4 separate regions of the Homo sapiens genome follow, and all the other regions are linked to region 2. The links are contacts of gene promoters, found by promoter capture Hi-C in blood cells and fetal thymus (Javierre and others, 2016). All regions are on one chromosome and are shown on one strand. Each heading gives the region's core, a stretch centred on a gene start or on the middle of the fragment in contact. The rest is flanking DNA. Distances are from core to core; before and after follow the strand shown. Region 1 overlaps SERPINB5 (serpin family B member 5). Region 2 holds the start of HMSD (histocompatibility minor serpin domain containing). Region 3 overlaps SERPINB12 (serpin family B member 12). Region 4 overlaps SERPINB13 (serpin family B member 13).

What was found. Contacts are between HindIII fragments. The CHiCAGO score rates a contact against its expected background, and 5 or more counts as called.
Region 1: a fragment that was not itself captured here is called in contact with the fragment with the promoter of HMSD in region 2 in 1 of 17 cell types (naive CD4 T cells); the score reaches 5.3 in naive CD4 T cells.
Region 3: a contact is called between a fragment that was not itself captured here and the fragment with the promoter of HMSD in region 2, in 2 of 17 cell types (non-activated CD4 T cells and naive CD8 T cells). The highest score is 6.1, in non-activated CD4 T cells.
Region 4: a fragment that was not itself captured here is called in contact with the fragment with the promoter of HMSD in region 2 in 1 of 17 cell types (monocytes); the score reaches 5.9 in monocytes.

Annotation. Positions count from the first base shown.
Region 1 is chr18:63,491,932-63,495,758 of GRCh38, forward strand. SERPINB5 (serpin family B member 5) reads left to right here. Exons shown (of 7, transcript NM_002639.5): 5 at 1,022-1,164. Among named protein-coding and RNA genes, the nearest start is that of SERPINB5, 17 kb to the left of the region's middle. The HindIII fragment of the contact is 6,711 bases long and covers 1-3,827 here.
Region 2 is chr18:63,947,881-63,951,392 of GRCh38, forward strand. HMSD (histocompatibility minor serpin domain containing) reads left to right here and starts at 1,421. Exons shown (of 4, transcript NM_001123366.2): 1 at 1,421-1,520. RefSeq lists a silencer at 1,259-1,488. The HindIII fragment of the contact is 6,685 bases long and covers 1-3,347 here.
Region 3 is chr18:63,544,155-63,547,657 of GRCh38, forward strand. The region is part of intron 1 of SERPINB12 (serpin family B member 12); the gene reads left to right. Among named protein-coding and RNA genes, the nearest start is that of SERPINB12, 3.5 kb to the left of the region's middle. The HindIII fragment of the contact is 2,551 bases long and covers 201-2,751 here.
Region 4 is chr18:63,588,995-63,592,873 of GRCh38, forward strand. SERPINB13 (serpin family B member 13) reads left to right here. Exons shown (of 8, transcript NM_012397.4): 3 at 662-721; 4 at 3,354-3,482; 5 at 3,860-3,879. Among named protein-coding and RNA genes, the nearest start is that of SERPINB13, 3.6 kb to the left of the region's middle. RefSeq lists an enhancer at 1-834. The HindIII fragment of the contact is 1,289 bases long and covers 1,756-3,044 here.

The sequences.
Region 1 (3,827 bases), core at 935-3,434, 460 kb before region 2:
TGCATGGTCCAGGGCAAAAGTAAAAATGCTGGGCTTCTTGTTTAAACATTTATTAAGAATTTTGAGGTAGTGACAGCTGAACATTAAACCAAGTGCAGGGTCCTTCACACAGGGGTCACAGGCCTGTGAAGTGGGCCCTGAACATTGGTCTGAAAATTGGAGATTAGGTGAATGAAAACCCTTTATAAAAAACCTGTGGGCTATTCAAATGTGAGGAGTTCTTTTTATTAAGGGATCACTCCCCTTGAATTGTTTTGGCTATTGGGATTTAGCTTTATAATAACTGCAATTGTGATTGAGCCCTATGGTGATTACAGTTGACCTTGAGGCAATCAGCCTGCCCGCAAGGAGTGCAATTGAGAGAGTGGATGGAGAGCTGTGGGGTGAAGGGGACAACCTTCAGACATGTTTTCCAGCTGAGGAAACTAGAACAGCTCCTTGGCCTCTCTGAGCCTCAGTTTACTGCACTGTAAAATGGAGATAATGATCTTTGCCTTATAGGACCATTGTGAAAAGACTGAGATAATATATGTGAAATTCTGCCATAAAGAAAGTGATTACGTATTTTCATTCAAGAGCACAGGCTTTGGAGTCAGAAAGAGCTGGCTTTGAATCCTGAATCCACCCTTGTTTATATATCATCCTTGAAAGTGACTTATCATCGCTGAGTCTCAGCTTCCTCATTCATAAAGTAGGAAGAAATATATATAATGTGTATCAAATAGCTTGTATACTGCCTGACACAGAATAGGCATTCAGAATGGTAGCTGTGCTTTCCTTCTTATTTCTCTTCCTTTCTTCCCTGCTCCTTCATTCTCCTCTGCTGACCTCTTTGGTAGATCTGGTTGTGTCAAGGTAGAAGGAGAGAAAGGAGTCCTTCTGAAATTTGATGGTTGGAACCATCAGGCCTTACATGGTGTGACTCCATGAAGTGGTAAATACTCAGTGAATATGCATGTGAATTTCAGATGTAGTTTGGAAGAATAATTCTGCTACTTGTGTTTTCCTAAAATTGTTGCAGGCCACTTTGAGAACATTTTAGCTGACAACAGTGTGAACGACCAGACCAAAATCCTTGTGGTTAATGCTGCCTACTTTGTTGGCAAGTGGATGAAGAAATTTTCTGAATCAGAAACAAAAGAATGTCCTTTCAGAGTCAACAAGGTATGTGGGGCAGCATGTAGCAGTAAAAGGAGCCCAATTATAGATGTGAAAAATGATAGGGACAGAGTGGGGCATAAATCCATTCCAATGAGGAACCTGAGGGCACGGCCGGCAAAGTGCCTTTCCTGAGATGAACAGCTGGAAGGTAAGTGGTACAAAAAGAGCCAGAATCCAGAGGCCCCCCCTCCTCTTTTCCATAATGTCTTCAAGGATCTGAGCTGAGTGAAACTTTATAGAATTTGTAACCCAGCGAGGAAAGCTAAGTCACCAGCTGAAAAATAGCTACAAACATCTGAGAACTTTAGCAGAAAAGGAAAAGACCAAACTCTGTTATCAGAGGACTTTGGATTATCATGAAACCTTGACATCTAGGAATCTTGTTCCTGATTGATTAACTTCTCTAACATCTCATTTCCTTATCGGTTGATAGCGAAGTATATTGTTCTGGGATTTTAATTTATAATTTATAAGATGCTTTGATGGCTGGGCGTGGTGGCTCATGCCTGTAATCCCATGACTTTGGGAAGCCGAGGAGGGCAGATCACCTGAGGTCAGGAGTTGGAGACCAGCCTGGCCAACATGGTGAAACCCTGTCTCTACTAAAAATACAAAAATTAGCTGGGCATGGTTGTGGGTGCCTGTAATCTCAGCTACATGGGAGGCTGAGGCAGGAGAATCAGACCCTGGGAGACAGAGGTTGCAGTCAGCCGAGACTGCACCACTGCACTCCAGCTTGGGCAACAAGAGTGAAACTCCACCTCAAGAAAAACAAACAAACAAACAAACAACAAGACCAGATGCTTTCAGGCACTTGTTGGCTGTGAAAAAACAAAGTATGGCTTACTCATTGACATCACTGGAAGTCATTATGGGAAGAATTAAGGGCCTGTTTTGCAGGCCAGTCTCATTGATACTGTTGAAGTAAATATGTTAAATAATTAATAGAGGGTGGGCACAGTGGCTCATGCCTGTAATCCCAGCACCTTGGGAAGTCGAGGCAGGCAGATCACGAGGTCAGGAGTTTGAGACCAGCCTGACCAACATAGTAAAACCCCATCTCTACTAAAAATACAAAAATTAGCTGGGCATGGTGGCATGTGCCTGTAATCCCAGCTGCTCAGGAGGCTGAGACAGGAGAATGGCTTGAACCCAGGAGGCAGAGGTTGCAGTGAGCTGAGATTGTGCCACTGCACTCCAGCCTGGGTGACAAAGTGAGACTCCATCTCAAAAAAAAAAAAAAAAAAAAAAAAGAAATGGGTAAAGTACCTCTTTTGTAAATGAGATCAAGGAACTGAGACTGGAAATTTGACCCATTTTATTGGAAAACCCAGACATCTATATGATGATGTGATGTGGTCTCCGTGGGTGGGATCTGACTTGTGTTAGACTGGAAGCAGCACTTCAGTTAGTACAATACTTGAAGGTAGCTTAGTTACCTGTAGCTCCTACGCGTCAGTTCTAGTTTTCATGCTTCTCCCAGTAGTTAGAGTACTTAGCATCAATATCTTGTTTTTGCCAAATATAGTAGCACCTTCTTAATGCTAGCATCCATGAGGAAAAGCCCTGCAAGATACAATCTATGCCTGGGTTAGCCGGATGGCTTCCATTACTCTTTCTTTCTTTGTTCCCATGGAATTTTTATTCATACTCTCCCCTGTCCACTGCCAGAATTTGCTTTTCCACAGTGAAATCTGTTTACTTACATAGATCCCCTACTAGCGCATGGGATTTTTAAGGTAGGGACAATGCCTTATTCACCTCAGTGTCTACAATTTCTGGCCAAGTCCCTAACACATCAGTAGGTGCTCAGCAAATTTGCTGAATGAATGATCAGTCCCTAAGGGTCAGTTTGCTTAAACAATCAATAGCAGACAAAACCTGACTGGCCTTTGGGACTACCATGGTTTCCTATGCAAGACCCATTGGGCATTTTCACTGGGAGAAGACAATGATGACTGTTACTGCTCCTTACCAACTCAAAATATCCATGGGAGCTGAGGGATGGGTAGGAGGTCCTCCTAACTTCCTGAGTTTAGCTTCCCAACTGCAGTGGTCTTCTCAAAGCTGACTGCAGAGACAGGATTGACCCTGCACACAAGAGGTCTGTCTGAGATTCTAGAGACATAGCTTATGCTCTTCACACTCTTGTGTTTTGCACACACAGGTCCTTGAGTTTTAAGCATGGCTTTTTGACCTTCTCAGTATTGTCTTTTATCTGGAGTGGAAGTGGAACGTGACTTTACCCAGCCTCTACTGTGAGTTAGGGAGGGGTGTTGGCCCCACTGGCCCTGACGGCATCCACACAGCCTTTGCTGTCATAGAGTGACCCTTCTGGCTCCTTTGATTAGTGATTGGCTCTCCTCCATAGCAAGGGCTGGCAAAGGGTTCCTAACTCTGTTTAAGTGAAATCTGAAACAGGTTGCCAATGGTGCCTCTCTTCAAGACCCCAGAGCCAGCCTGGAAGGAACACCATGAAAATGTTGCAATAGTCAATGAGTAGAATGTGGACTTTTGTGTCAACCACACTAAGGGTCGTACTTTTTTCATTAAGAAAGTATTAACGTGTGTTTTTTGAGAAGGGAGGAAGAATGTGTGCTATTCCTTTATTCTTGCTATTAAATCATAAAGCTGGGTTATATAAGATCCTGGAAACTCAGCCTTTA
Region 2 (3,512 bases), core at 171-2,670:
CAGAAGATAGAAGCAGAAGAACTACTTTCTAATTCATTCTATAGGGCTGGAATTACTCTGATAACAAAACCAGACAAAGACATTAGAAGAAAAGAAACTTAAAGACCAATATCTTTCATTAGTATAGATGCAAAATCCTGAACAACATATTCACAAATGAAATCAAACTATGTGTAAAATAGTTGGATTATACATTGTGACTAAGTAAGATTGATTGCAGGTGTACAAGACTAATTCAACATTTGAAAATCAAAGGAATCCGTCATATCAACAGGTAAAAAACAGAAAAAATCCTCAAAAAATTGCTAGCAACTCCAATTCAACAACACATTAAACAGATCACTCACCACGATCAAGTGAGATTCACCCGGGTATGCAAGTATGATTCAATATACACAAATCAATAAATGCGATACATTGCATTAAAAGAACCAACAACAAAAACTGCACGATCATTTCAATAGATGCCGAAAATGTATTCAGTAAAATCCTACATCTCTTTATGATAAAAATCCTTAACACATTGGGTATAGAAGGAATATACCTCAAAACAATAAAAACCAAAATGAAAAACCCACTGCTAATATCATACTGAACAGGGAAAAATTGAAAACCTTTCCTATAAGATCTGCAACAAGACAAGGATGCCCAGTTTCACCCCCTTTATTCAGTATCTGACTGGAAGTCCTGGCCGGGGCAATTAGGCAAGAAAAAGAAACAAAGGACACCCAAACTGGAAAGAAAGATGTAAAATTAGCTTTGCTCACCAATGGTATAATCTTATAATCGGAAAAACCAAAAGACTCCCCTCAAAAACTACTAGAACTAATAAATGAATCAGTAAAGTTGCAGAATACAAAATGGATATAAAATATCCGTAAGATGTCTATACATCTACAGTGAACAGTCTGAAAAAGAAATCAAGAAAGAAATCCCACTTACAATAGCTATAAGAAATATGATGTATAAAATACCTAGTAATCAATTTAATTAAAAAAGTGAAAGACTTCTACAAGGACAACTATAAAACACTGATGAGAAAAACGTGAAGAACACACACAGAAAATGGACACATATTCATGCTCATAGGTTGGAATAATTAATGTTAAAAGTACAATGCTACCCAAACAATTTACAGATTGAATGCAATCCCTGTCAAAATACCAATGTCATTCTTCACAGAAATAGAAAAAAAAAAAAACCCTATAATTTGTATGGAACCACGAAAAACCCCAAATAGCCAAAGCGCATTATCGCTTCTTGACTGAAAACTCCCGGACAGTTGGGGCTTTTTCCTGCACAGAGATTGGCCACTTCCTGCACATCAGGAGATCCCCGCGGCCTGCGGGACCCGCCCCGCCCTCCTGCCCAGGCGCCCGCTAGGTGGTGCCTGGCTGGGCCCGACTCCGCCCGCCTCCCCATTCACTGGGAACTAACACCCGGCGCCGCTCAGACATCTCTATTCCCGCCTCTCCGACCCGGTCTCACTTCGCTCCTGGGCAGCTGCGCGGAGAACTGGGGTAGGTGTTTGACTTTGGGAGTGGTTCCCACACGCTGGATTCTCGTTACCTGCTCTTGAGCCCAGGAAAAGGGCGGGAACCTACGAAAGGGAAGCCCAGTGAAGTGCTCAGCGCACCTGTTGCTCCAGACCTTTCCCTGGGGCTGTCCTTCTTTACTCGGTCTCTGGCGGGGGCTCCCTAAGGGCAGGGACTTGGCTGCACTTGGCTGTGTGCCCTATGGGTCCAGGCGCGGGGAGGGGAGGCCAGGGCGAATGGGCGCGGAGCTGGGGGGTGAAAGTCCTGCCTGGGCTCCACTCATCCTGCAGGAGCTGGAAGTAGGTACAATGAGGCCTCCCACCCTGGTGAAGTTTATGTTGGGCGCTGGAAGGGGCTGTGAGGCCTGGGACCTCCAGGAAAAACAACAGCAGCAGTATTTATTTGTCGGTACCGAAACTCGTATGCTCTCAGTATTCAGAATTTGTACTTGACATTCCTCCTCCTTTAAAAGAAACCAGGAGAGGCGTTGATAGTATGTTTTTGGACTGGAAAAAAATCAAAATGAGGACGATACTGTTGCCAGAAAGCAAAAGTGTTGGGATAGTGTAAAAAGAAAGTAACCAATTTACAGAGATTCCCAGTAGACAAGTTGTGAGAATTTGCTCAAGAACAAAAACCAGTATGTGTTAATTGAAATACATGTTACAACAAAGCCAAGAAAGAGTCCTTTAGTAAATTCAGATAAAACAAGTAAAATGGGCCAGGCGCGGTGGCTCACGCTTGTAATCCCAGCACTTTGGGAGGCTGAGGGGGGCGGATCACGAGGTCAGGAGTTCGAGACCCAGCCTGGCCAATATGGTGAAACCCAGTCTCTACTAAAAATACAAAAATTAGCCGGGTGTCGTGACATGGGCCTGTAGTCCCAGCTACTCAGGAGGCTGAGGCAGAAGAATCGCTTGAACCTGGGAGGCAGAGGTTGCAGTGAGCCAAGATTGCACCACTGCACTCCAGCCTGAGGGACAAAGCGAGACTCTCTCTCAAAAAAAAAAAAAAAAAAAAAAAAAAATGTAAGATGAGTTTAAAGGAGGCAGGAAATAATTTCAATAATGTTTACAAGAAATGCTGTGTGATGATTCATATACGACTGCTGTGTAGGAATAGTGACTATAGGCACCTAGGTTGACAGGCACAGTGGTTACAAAAACCAACCTGAAGGCCTAAATATTAAACCAGGAGACTTTGAAAGCCAACTTGTGGATAGAACTCTGTGTTACGCAAATCAGATGCACGAGAACCTCAAATAGTATTTCATTTCAAGGAAAGGCATTTGGCAAAAAAAAGAAAAAAGCAAATTTAATAGTTGTCTTTGCAAAATCCCAATGTAGGACCAAACTGCAAAATGGTCCTTACATTTGTTTGGCTTTAAAAAGCAGTATGACCTGAAAAGTAGCAGTGTCAGGTCAGTCAGAGCCCATGTCCCAACCATCAATCTGGCAGCCCCATCCTATTGTTTTTGTGAATAGGAGATGGTCTGTTATTAATTTAACCCCAGAAAAGTATTAAAATAAGCATTACCATCACCCTAGGAAATATAAAAAGATAGAGTGAAGATAAAGTGTATAAAACCCACAGTATTACTAGTGGGGTGCTAGAAATAAGTTTTATAATCACTGTTGTACAGTTGTATTTTAAAACATGTTTGAAAGTCTTAGGAGAATCTAGTTTAACAGATTTATAAGTGTTGATTTATTCAGTTTATTATTGTACAAATGCTTATATTAATGATATAGTTGTTAATTTTGTAAGTTTGTTCTTTAAAGTGATTACATCTTTAAAACATCTGATACATTAAGCTTTATCATCAATGCTTAAATGTTTAAAATAACGTATTTGCTGTGTTAGCAGTGTGCTTTAAAGTTTAAGGAAAACAATTTGTTTACCAAATTAACAAGAAATTAATTGATCATTGACTAAATAAGGTATAATAATAGAAAAAATTGGTCTCTGTTTATGAAA
Region 3 (3,503 bases), core at 226-2,725, 400 kb before region 2:
TTGTAGAGCAAAAGCAGCCATAGACAGTAATAAATGAATGGATGTGTTTCGTTCCAATAAAACTTTATTTACAAAAACAGGCAGAGGGCTGGATTTGGCCTGCAGGCTGTAGTTTGTAAGCCATGATTTGAAGGATGAAGTCCTCATTTACAGTTTTGGAAGAAATAGATAATGTTATAAAGATTTGGCTAAGAAAATAAAGCTTTGTGCAATACTAATTCTATGTAATTATATTAAAAACGTGAATAGTTGTAAACACATAAGAGCTTGGAAAACCATATTATTATTCTTATTTTTTTAAGGGCGAGAAAATTGAAGTTTTCATGATGTAGTTGCCTGAGGTCTCAGGCTAGTAAGATTCAGCCCAGGGCCTGCTTCTTCTGATTGCAAGTTTACTGCTTTTTCTATGTGTTCTTTGCTGTCTCATAGCTTTGCCTGTCTTTGATCTCTATGTCTCTGTCATATTGGGGTGGACAGCTGACATTTTTTCAATCCTGGAGATGTCAGTTTTGAAGCTGAAAGAACTAAGGGCTTTGGATATCTTAAGAGTGATTGCAAGTTTTGAAATGAGTTTGTGTTTTAGTCTTTATTGTTGTTTTAATAGATTTTTTCCTCTTTTTATGTGTTATAAGACTCTTAAATTTGGAGGATACAAGATAAACATCAGGAAAACTGTCTGCTTTAGATAAAAGATGCATTTTTTCATTAGGTTGAAAGTGTCTATGCTGATATTTTTCCTATAAACATGTTTTCTTTTCTCAATATTGGGTTTTAAAATTAAATGACAAAGAGCCCCTTTGTAATATTTCAAAAATACTGCCTTTATCAGTAGGGGAATATTAATCATATCATTTTGCATCATAAACTGGCAAAGACTTTGATTGCTGAATCATTCTGGCCTCCTTAAATTTTTAATTCTAGGCAGAAAAAGGCTAATTGCTGAAAGATTTATTGATTGGCTCATAATTCTTGCTGAGTTGTAACATACCTAGGAGGAATCATCTAGCTCTATACTTGATGAAGTAAACATTATTTTTACGGCCTGTTGACATAGAACTATTTTTTTTTTTTTTTAGCTTGCCTTGAATAGCACTGTCAGGCTAGTTGACCTCCAAATTTCTTTCAAACCCTAGTGTAATTCTCTGGCACTTGAAGTCACGGGTACTAGAGAGGCTCGCTTTCTTCAGCCATTCAGTGATATATTACATGTGTAAAGTACCAAATGCAGCTTGACATTTAGTAAGTGCTCAAGAAATTCTCATCCCCTTGTTAGTGATTTATCAAGCTACCTTAATGTTTAGCTACATTTAGTGTCAGATTTCATCTTCGCTCATTGAGCAATCGCACCACACCAAATTTTTAGGCTTGTAGGGCACAGTCATCTGTAGTTAGATCTTTGTTGAATTATTTAAGAGGATAAACAGATGCAAATCTAGATTAAAGACATTCAAACAAGTTTATACTCTTCTCAGGTACCCAGAAGCCCAGTGAAATTTGAATATTATCCCCCAACAGTAACAGATGTGACACCTACTTCCAGGAAGCCAGGCAAGAACTCATCCTGTTCTGAATATGAATGGTATACCCTTTTGGAAAGGCTATGATGGGCAACATGAAGTAGTAATCAATGACATAAAATATTAAATAATTCACGTGTTAAAATTTTCCAAACTCTTGCAAATCATAACCAATGACTAGACTGGTTTTTAGAATTTTGTGGAAGAATTTAGAAAAAAAAATAATTATTTTCAAATGATCAAGGAGTAAAGAAAACTAACAGCACGTTTCTTTTCTATGCTTACTATTGATAATTCAGAAAAACTCTGGATGCTTAGTCATTAATTTCCACTGGTCAATATCTTATAAAACTTGTTTTATTTATACACTAGCTACATAAGTAGTTTATATTTTCCATAAAGGCCATCTCTCCATTTTAGAAAGTTTTCCTTTGAATTTCTCTACACCTAATGTATTTGTAGGGTCATGGTTCAGATAATATTGTTGTCTGACAACAAGTTAGAAAAGGAAGATAAAGGGCTCAGTAGGAGAACCAGGTCAGAGAGGGGTCCTCGTTTGTCCTTAAGACATGTCAGTTCCTGGAGTTTGACTCTTCCTAGCTTTCTCCTAGTTGCTCCACACTTTTTGCCCTATCCACTGACCCTCATGTTTACAGTCAGTAACATAACACGATTGTAGAGTGCTAGAACCAAAAGTAACATCAGAACATGCTTTGGCTAAGTTTAAAAAGTTTTGTGTTTTCAGTTGTAAAATATGTGTGTCAATAATCAAATAATAATTCTCATCCCTACCACACACCTACTGCAGGAAAGCAAAAACTTTGAAGTAGCTTAGAGCACATTTTGCAAATCCTATGTAATAACTTAGAAAGATTTTAGAATAATGCAAAAATTCAAATATAAGAAATCATCTAAGACAATGTGTATATGAAGTAAAATACATTTCTGCTTCATGGTCTTCTAGTATAGAAATTTGAATTGAAAAGTGTGAGCCAAGTATTGCTTTGAGGGCTCTATAAAATTGGAAAGAGCAAAGAAAATATAAGCATATTAAGTTAAATATTCAATGTAGTTAAAAGCATAGCATTTGTTTTAAAAATATATGCCACTCTTTTCTTTTCCCTTTAATCTATCAATGATGATTTTACTCTGGATTCCAAAATGGCACTGGAAAAGTTCCACAGAGGGAGGGGCAAAGTTGATATATTTCCATTCCCGACAGGGTGTGGAGGGAAGCTTACCTGACCAGCTGTTAGCAGCAACTCTGAGGGCAAGAAGGTAAATGCTCGAATTGCCTGATATAATTTTTAACAATGAACACTGAATTGGAAAACCATTTTAAAGGATAGAAACCCAGAGGAGATGTGATTGAAATAGAAGGATATACTTGTTTTTATTAAGTCAAATACTTAAAAAAAGTGAGTTAGTTTTATGATGTTTTGGATTTTCTGCAGATGTGGCAGTCATCACTGGGAGATATTAACAATGCTTGTCACCTCGCTCAGCCCCAACCACCTGGTCAGATGCCTGATGTATATGATTGATTTTTTTAAAATGTAGATGTTTGAATAACTTTTTAAACTTTCACATACTTGACATATTGTATTTTATCTTTTAATGAATTATTTCTGAAACATAAGATGGTATAATATTTAGAATATCTATATTTTAAACAATGTGAGTTAGATTTTTTTTTTTTGCACCATAAGTTGGAAAACACTTTCGATGGTATTGTTCACAAGTATTTCTTTGTTTTTAGATATTGGTTATTATTTAGTTTGCTGTAACCTGGTTTGAATATTTGTTCCAGCAGAATAGCATCTATTTGTGTAAAGTTTGAATTTCATTCTTGAGTTGTTAGTAGCTTTGTGGGAATTATAGAAATTATAAGACATGAAATATTTTTGGAGTATAAATATTTTTCTTCCTACTATATATAGGAAAAAACAGTTTTACTCAGAATATTTTGGGTTGTTAGAATGTCTA
Region 4 (3,879 bases), core at 1,150-3,649, 360 kb before region 2:
GCCCTCTTCCTTTTCCAAATACCATCTCGCCACCTGCTCCCAGATGCTTGAAATTTTTTTGAGTAGAGACTGGTTGCGTAACCTTGTCCAAGTACTTATGGAAAAAGTGACATAATCCCCACAAGGGTAAAAATGACACATCCAAGATGAACACAGGAACACATAAGCCAATACGAGTTCCTTAGAAAAAAATTAGAGGTATTTTTAGTAAAGAAGGGGATTCACCATGTTGGCCAGGCTAGTCTTGAACTCCTGACCTCAGGTGATCCACACGCCTTGGCCTCCCAAAGTGCTGGGATTACAGGCATGAGCTTAGCTGGGTGTGGTGGCAGGTGCTTATAATCCCAGCTACTCGGAAGGCTGAGGCAGAAGAATCGCTTGAATCCAGGAACAGAGGTTTCAGTGAGCCAAGATCATGCCACTTCACTCCAACCTGGCCAAAAGAGCAAAACTCCATCACACACACACACACACACACACACACACACACACACACGAAAAATCAGAGGTAAACGCAGACCTTTTTCTGATTTTGCAAGGAGATAATGTCACCTCATATACCACCGAGGTTTCTTTCAGAAGCGTCCACTCTCCCCTGACTGATTCTGTGTGAGGTTTTCTCTTCTCTGAGCACCACAGTAATATTTTCTATCTCTTCCAGGTGTTTCACTCTGAAAAAGAGACGAAGAGCTCAAGAATAAAGGCTGAAGAAAAAGAGGTGGTAAGAATAAAGGCTGAAGGAAAAGAGGTGGGGAGATGTGTTTTACAAACTTCAGTAGAGTTGCATTTTAGGTGTGGGGTCTCTGGGGAAAAGGACTGAGAAAGGCATGAAAGCAATATTGTTGCTTTACTATTAAGCAATAATAATCACCATAGACAAATATTGTTGTAAGGATTATACAATAATAATAACCCCTTAATATTGAGAAGAGACCTTAGGTGTAATGGACAATACCGCTATGATAGAACTGGTAAAGGCTAATAGACAGAAAAGTTCCCATAGCAGAGTGGATGGGTTTTGGAGTTAAACAGACTTAGGTCCAAGTCCTGGCTCAGTCACTTAAGAGCGATGCTACTTTGGGCAAGTTATTTATCTTCTTTCAGCCTCTGTAAAGTCCGCAGTAGGGGCATCTGGCAACTGAGCCAGTGGTGGTGGTGGTAGTAGCAGTAGGTGATATTATTGCTAAACTCCACTCATATTTTTAACCCCGTGCTGATGTTGTATTTAAAAAATTATTACAGGCCCAATGACTTCCTGAGGTCTTTTCCAGCTCCAGTGTTCCTGTATTCGCCATCCAAAGGAGAGTCTACTCAAATATGGGAAAGGAATAAGCCCATTAGGTCGGGGCTAGGATCAGACGTTAGCACTCTCAGGAAGGGCACAGCTGCTCTGACAGTAGTCATAGTGCAATTCCAGACCCTCATAAAACCATGGCTCAGATCACCCAGCAATAGGAGCTGCTCATTTCACAACCCCAAAAGGCTAGGTCGTGTGGGTGGCTCAGTTGCTCCTGTGGAGGGTCAGGCTTCCTTTCAGGGTTTGCGCAACCAAGTTGGGTCATATGGCCACTGCAATGTTCCCTCAACTGAGAAGTGCAGTTGTCTTCAGAGCACATTCTTTCTCAGCCATGATAGCCCATGTAGAACCTTTGTGCAAATTAGAAAACAGCTCATTCTTTTGGATAGCTGCCCTACTCCTATGTGAAGGGCTAGATGACTGGGGTGGAAACTGAATTTCAGCTTTGTGTAAGGCAAAGCTTACACATACATGCTGTCTAGCAGTTTTGCCCATTCCCCAGAATTTTCCTGGGAGCCACAGGGGTATGAAGAGAATAGAATTACTGACTGAAAGGATATTAGCACTGGAATACATCTTAGAGGTCATCTACTCCAATCTCCTCATTTAATAGTTTGCCCAGAGACTGGCTTGGCATGTACCCGTTTGATTATTATGTAAATTCAGAGTATTTTGAATCTTGCTTTTAAAAAATGCTGATAAAATCTCAAGACATATGTACAAAAGGTATAAGGAAAAATGCAATAAACACACTTTAACCCCTCCTTTAAGTGTACAAAATAAACTATTACCAAATCAGCTGATGCCCCTTAGGCTGATGTATAACACCTTCCTTGAGCACGCCCCCATCCTCTCCTCAGAGAGGAAGTCCCACTATTGTGGATTAGGTGTTCATTATTCCCACGTATTTATTATTTCATTACATGCCATATATTTTTGTCATTCTTCTTTGGAACTTGATTATTTTTGGCTTAGCATCATGTTTATAAGATTCATCTATTTTAAGGGGATACTTATAGCTCTATTTGATTCATTTTTATAGCTATTTCCTCATTTATTTTGTTGATGGGGCCGGCCTTCCTTCCTTCCTTCCTTCCCTCCTTCCTTCCTTTTTTCTTTCCTTCCTTCCTTCCTTCCTTCCCTCCTTCCTTCCTTTTTTCTTTCCTTCCTTCCTTCCTTCTACAAACAATGCAAAAATGGCCTTTTTAATGCCAGCCTCCTAATTTGCCTGGGTGAGAGTTTATCCAGTCCCAAGCTATCCAGTATAGTAGCTACTCAAGTGGCTATTGAACACTTGCAATACATCTAGTTTGAATCCAGATGTGCTATAGGTATAAAATGCATATTATATTTTAAGAACTTAGTATGAGAAAGGAATACAAAATATTAATTTTCATGTATTATTTTTGCTGAAATATGTATCTTATATATTAATATGTAATTAATATTTATTGTATTTATATGTTGAAATAATGACATTCTAGATATGTCGTTAAGGTAACATAGAATATGAAAACTTCAATCAGAAAACTGATGGGTCCTACATAAAATATTCAGAAAATTTTTTTTTTCCCCTGGAGACAAGGATAAATCTCACTTCAGCCCAATGTGTAGTGACTCATACCATTAGGAGTCACTCTTCTTATTCACTATCTGGAAAAATTTCCAAACTTCAATAGATAAGAATCGTCCGGAGAAATCACTTACTTTCCTTAGATGCTTAGAATCTTGTGGGGAGCTAAAAACAAGCTTATTGAACATTTAGTGAGCACTTTTATTTGAGACCAAAAAAGCCCACAACTTGAGTTATAAATGCAAGATCTGTGGTGTTGGGCTGGCAGAGAAGGCTTCTCTCTGGAGCTGAGATTGGTCATAACTGACATTATCATATGACTTGGGTAAAGGCTACCTGATATCCAGGGGCCACATCAAACACAGGGATCACCCTTGAGGCTGACAAACGGAGGGAGAGACCCAGCAGCCGCATCCTCTTAGGGGAGAATCTGGGCTTGCTTTTGCCAAGATAACCTGTTGAGATTTTGTTTTAATTTTCAAGATTGAGAACACAGAAGCAGTACATCAACAATTCCAAAAGTTTTTGACTGAAATAAGCAAACTCACTAATGATTATGAACTGAACATAACCAACAGGCTGTTTGGAGAAAAAACATACCTCTTCCTTCAAGTAAGTTTGCCATGCCTACCATATCTGTGAGTGGTATTCTGGAATGGCCAAATGGCCCTGGTAGGACTATGGGTCCTGAAGTCGTGCTGCCTGGCTCTGGCCACATCCCTGTGGTGCTTTTCCATCCTGATCTACAGATATTCAGAACTGCAGGGAGTTCCTTTTTAGTCCTGGCAATCTGAACCTGATTTTTGCCTCATCCCCAGAATAGCTGCATAAAAATGTGCAGCAGGAACTCAATGTGAGATGCCCAGGGCCTTAAAATTTCTCTTACTGTATTAGTCATCCTAATGTATACATAAATTTATTTAGAGATGTTGGCAATTGATAAATTGAGTTTTTAACCTCTTTTTATTCCTTCCTTGTTTCTCCTAAAGAAATACTTAGATTATGTTGA